2 separate regions of the Homo sapiens genome follow, and region 1 is linked to region 2. Evidence: promoter capture Hi-C in human tissues and cell types (Jung and others, 2019). All regions are on one chromosome and are shown on one strand. The core of a region is centred on a gene start or on the middle of the fragment in contact, and the rest is flanking DNA. Distances in the headings are between cores, read along the strand shown. Region 1 has its middle 6.2 kb from the start of GPRC5B. Region 2 holds the start of UMOD (uromodulin).

The links. Contacts are between HindIII fragments. The study calls those that stand out against the background at their distance.
Region 1: a fragment that was not itself captured here is called in contact with the fragment with the promoter of UMOD in region 2 in 2 of the 25 tissues and cell types used here (H1 embryonic stem cells and thymus).

Annotation. Positions count from the first base shown.
Region 1 is chr16:19,889,695-19,892,394 of GRCh38, forward strand. No RefSeq gene overlaps it. Among named protein-coding and RNA genes, the nearest start is that of GPRC5B, 6.2 kb to the left of the region's middle. The HindIII fragment of the contact is 3,795 bases long and covers 1-2,700 here.
Region 2 is chr16:20,351,314-20,354,013 of GRCh38, forward strand. It overlaps UMOD (uromodulin), which reads right to left and starts at 1,402. Exons shown (of 11, transcript NM_003361.4): 1 at 1,376-1,402. The HindIII fragment of the contact is 15,409 bases long and covers 1-2,700 here.

The DNA.
Region 1 (2,700 bases), core at 61-2,560, 460 kb before region 2:
GTAATTTATAAAGAAAAGAGATGTATTAGCTCACAGTTCTGCAGGCTGTACACGTTTGACCCCAGCATCTGCTCGGCCTCTGGGGAGGCCTCGGGAAGCTTTTGCTCATGGCAGAAGGCGAATGGGGAGCTGGTGTGTCACATGGCGAGAGAGAGAGAGCCAGAGAGATGCCGGGCTCCTCTAATCAGCCAGCTCTTGTGTGAACTAACAGAGAGAGAACCCACTCACTACTGTGAGCCACTCATGAGGGATACATCCACATGACCCAGACACCTCCAACACCGGGAATCACATTTCAACATGAAATTTAACGTGGACAAATATTCAAACCATATCAACTTCCTACCTACATACTTTGCTTGGCTAGGCTGAGAAGGTTCCCAGGCTCCCCTGAGACTCCAGCACTTGATGTTCTCCTTAGAGCAGCAATGGGGGACACTTCAGGCTGTTGGCATTTCTGGAAGCATCTTTGGGGTGAGCAGCCAGGAGCACTGAGTAAACAAATGTGGAACACACCATTGCCACCATTCCACTATTTTGTGCCCATGACAGGCATCACCAATGGATTGCTGCTTTTAATGCCCTCAGTCTGTAACTGTAACTGCCCATTATGTGTTAGAAAATTCAGGCTGGGTACAGCGGCTCACACCTGCAATCCCAGCACTTTTAGAGGCTGAGGTGGGAGGATCACTTAAGCCATGGAGTTCAAGACCAGCCTGGGCAACAGAGCAAAACTCCCATCTCTACAAAAAATTTGTAACCAGGTGTGGTAGCATGTGCCTGTAGTCCCAGCTACTCTGGAGGCTGAGGTGGGAGGGTTGTTTGAGTCTAGGAGGTTGAGGCTGCAGTGAGCTGTGATCACACCACTGCATTCCAGCCTGAGTGACAGAGCAAGACCTTGTCAAAAAAAAAAAAAAAAAAAAAGAAAGAAAGAAAGAAAGAAAAGAAAAGAAAAGAAAAAAGAAAAGAAAATTCATTCACAGTGGCAAAGTGCTCTTCAGTTGTTTCTGGGAGTCCCCAATGGGGTGTCCCCATAGACATCCACAAACCAGTGTGTCAGTTGCAGTCAAAATGTGACTGCCACCCTCTCTTCCTACAGGTTCTTGTCTGTGAGTACGCAAGATTGCTTGGAGTAGCCTCATCATGGCCCCATTGGTCCCCTGCAAGGCTGCCATGGGGACACTCTCCCAAAGCCCCCAAAGCTGTCAGGAAACATTTAAGCAGCAGGACAATTGTTACGGCCTACACAATAGGGATGTTTGTTATCACACAACAATAAGTCGGGATGTGAGTGATCTCACAGTTGGTCCATTGCTCAACAATGTAAACAGGGGCCCAGTGTCTTTCTAGTAGTCTTCTGATCAGCTGTCCTCTGCTTGGGACCTCATGGTCACAAGATAGCTGCCATGGCACCAAACATCACATCTTCACTTGACAATCTCCAGTATGGGAAAGAAGCTGTCCAGGGAAGAGAGCTCTTCTTGTGAGTCTCCCTGTTAATCAGAAAGAAAATCATTCCTAGAACTGCCCTACTTCTCACCCCAGGTGCAGAATTACCCTTATATTTCCTTGGTCAGAACTGAATCACCTCGCTTCCCCTAGTACAAAGGAGGCTGAGAAGTGAGCTCTTGGCACCAAGAGACTCAGTAAAGAAGGAGGGTGAGGGAAAGGTGCTTGAGGCAGGAAACCTCAGTGTCTGCCCCAAGTGACCTTCCTGAGAGTTGAAGGAGCAGGGGCTTGAGCTGGTGGCACACATGTCCACTGCCCTACCCAGCCACCTGTAAGGGTAGCTTCTGAGCTTCTGAGTCACCACTATCTCAGGGGGATCAAACCCAATCCCAGGGCCAGATAGAAAGTGTGTGGCCCCTTTCCCTTCTCCCCTCCCCTCCTTTTCTCCTGACGCAAATCTGTCACAGAAGCAGCTCTCTATCTTCATAGAAGGTTTCTGCTTTACCCTTTGGGAGGCCGAGGTGGGCAGATAGCCTGAGGTCAGGAGTTCGAGACCAGCGTGGCCAACATGGTGAAACCCTGTCTCTACTACAAATACAAAAAAATTAGCTGGGCATGGTGTCACATGCCTGTAATCCCAGCTACAATGGAGGCTGAGGCAGGAGAATCGCTTGAACCTGAGAGGCAGAGGTTGCAGTGAGCCGAGATCACGCCACTGCGCTCCAGCCTCGGCAACAGAGTGAGACTCGGTCTAAAACAACAACAACAAAAAAAGGTTTCTGCTTTGTCATTTCACTACTAGAAGTTCCCTTGCTGTGTCCCCAAAACAAAGGAACTGTCTGTCCCCCCCAAAGACAAACTCAAGCCTCTACCCCTATGTAAAACAAAGAATGATTTGAATGGTTGCAATTCTAGGTTATTTATTTATAGGCGTCTATGAACTTCCTGGTGGAGGTTTAAGAAATGTTGGACCATTTATCTTTACTCGGTTATGAAGCTTAGAGTGATGTGGGATCCACTTTAAGAGAAAGGGTGGAGGCAGGGCCTGGATGTGCCAGCCCCAGAGCCCAGGCTGTAACCACTGCCCCATCCTGCTGTTTTACCCCCGGGCAGGAATCCTCTGATCAGCTTCACTTTCTCTTAGTTTTTCCTTATGACACTGTGATGTACTTCCAAATCACCAGGCTCTTGTCCACATGAACACTCTGGTTCAGAGGGTGGGAGAGGATTCGTACCCCCAAAAGCTCCCAG
Region 2 (2,700 bases), core at 152-2,651:
AAGAAGTGGCTTGAGACGAGCAACTTGAGAGGTAATTAACCTTCACAATGCATTTAAATGTTTCTGGAGTGGTCACTTACTATTTCTTCCAATTGGAAAAATAGTCCAGGGTGGATGCCAGTATTACCCCAGTGTTTATAGCAGCAAAATAGGGTGGCATGTTGGTTAAGTATGTAGGAGCTGCAGCCTGCACCTGAGGTTCAAATCCCTGCTTTACTGATCACTAACACTGTGATGTGGGTATTTCAGTTTACTAAGTCTCCGTTTTTGTCTGTGAAATGGAGATTGTTGCTTTCACAAACTGAATATCTATGATGGGCCAGGCTCAGTTCAAAGACATTCATGTGCTCAAAGGCATTGGGTCCTAGAGCAACGTTTTCCAGATCTTCGTGACCATGATGTACTAAAAGAAAAACATTTTATGTTGCCAGGTGCAGTGGCTCATGCCTGTAATCCCAACACTTTGGGAGACTGAGGGGGTGGATCACAAGGTCAGGAGTTTGAGACCAGCCTGGCCAGCATGGTGAAACCCCATCTCTAATAAAAATACAAAAATTAGCCGGGCATGGTGGTGGGCGCCTGTAATCCCAGCTACTCGGGAGGCTGAGACAGGAGGATTGCTTGAACCTGGGAGGCAGAGGTTGCAGTGAGCTGAGATCGTGCCACTGCACTCCTGCCTGGGTGACAGAGAGTCCATCCCCCCCCCCCAAAAAAAAAAAGACAGAAAGAAAGAAAAACATTTTATGTCATGATCTAGTGCAGTCGCTTCTGCATGTATGTGCACACACACATAAAATTTTATAAGACAATTGATATCCTTACTACATTAAGTGATTTAATTCTTACCACAACCCTATGAGATAAGTATTATCCTAGTTTGCAGATGAGAAAACAGGGGGACAAAGAGGCTAACTGCTTGCCTCAAATTTGTATTGCTTACTGACATATTCTATTATATTTAATTAAAAGAAGTCCCTGGATATAACCCACAAAAGGAATGATTTTATGACCCGCTAATAAGATGCGACCTAAAACACTGCATATTGTCACTGGGATTAACTAAGATGACATATGTCGAGCAGGGCCCAGCACATAGCAAGTTGTTCATTGTTGTAACCCTGGTACCTGGCACATAATAGGTGCATAACTAATATTCATGGAATAAGTCAAAAAATAGTAGTCATTGTTACTAGGACAGAGAGGATCAAAGAGAGGAAAACTAACTTACTAAAGATCATGAAGCCAATAATTGGCAGAATAATGACTCAAATCCAGGTCTGACCCCAGTGTCCAAGGTCTTAATTTCCTCTCCTACCTCCCTCAAATAGGATGGGGAGAAGCTGGGCTAGGAGAAGACAGCTACAGATAGCCTTACCTGAAGCCAGAAAGGTAGAGTTAGTCTGGTCATGATGTGCCTCATACTTATATATACACATTTGCCCCAGGCTGGCAATCTCTCCTCCAATTAGTCTCTAGTTCTGTTTTTTGATATTGTTTTCTTGGGGGTGGAATATTTTTTCCTCCTGGCATAATGTTTGCCTTGTCCAAGCTGTGAGGTTGTTGTTGTTCTTTTTCCTAATAGCTAGAGACCCCAAATGATTGACATTGGGGGGTCACACCTGTGCCCGGAAATACAAGGTCACTGTTTCGCACCTTCTAACAGCAAGAGATTCCATAGTTAGAAATTAACTGGGAAAGCAGTGCCAAGGTGCTGGGCTTCTTCTTGGTCACTGACAAGGGCAGGGTGGGATCAAGGAGCCAGGCAGAAGCCAGTATCTGAAGCCAGGCTGCATAAGGACAAAAGGGATATTCACTGCCCCAGATGGGAGGTGCACCTGTCTTGGAGAGGGCACCCTTCTGAAACACCCATTCTCATGAGATCAGCCTTAGAATCCAGACACAAGCAAGAGAGGAGCTGAGAATGGCTGAAAGTCAGAACCAGAAGGTAGTTCAGACATCACTGGACCTGACCCACTCTGTACAACAAAGAATCAGGTCTGATGACTGGGAGGTCCCTTTGGAGGCGAAATAAATTTGCACTTAAATAGACTGACTTTGGAGTCAGTCTGCCTCCTTTATCTGGTGTTTATTGTGTGGCAGTGGGCTCATTTCTTAACCTTCCTGAGGTCCAGAGGTCAATTTCCTTGTCTATAAAATGAGAATACCCATCTCCCACAGTAGTAATAGTAACCAAAGGAGATGATGCAAGTAAAGTCATATAGTAATGATTATATTCATGGAAGTAGTGAAAATTCTGCTTTGCTGTTGTGCAATCACTGAGGTAGAAAATGACAGAGCCTGAGTTAAAACCATGTCTTCAGACCCAGTTCAACATACATGACATTCCAAAAGTCAGTGTGAGAGTGGCTGTCATCATGTTGAGAAAAATAAAATATGTGTGAACTTGGGCTGAGCAGGAAAATATCACCATGATCACTGCATTGATCTTTTTTTTTTTTATACTTTAAGTTTTAGGGTACAAGTGCACAACGTGCAGGTTTGTTACATATGTATACATGTGCCATGTTGATGTGCTGCACCCATTAACTTGTCATTTACATTAGGTATAACTCCTAATGCTATCCCTCCCCGCTCCCCGCATCCCACAATAGGCCCCTGGGTGTGATGTTCCCCTTCCTGTGTCCAAGTGCTCTCATTGTTCAATTCCCACCTGTGAGTGAGAACATGCGGTGTTTGGTT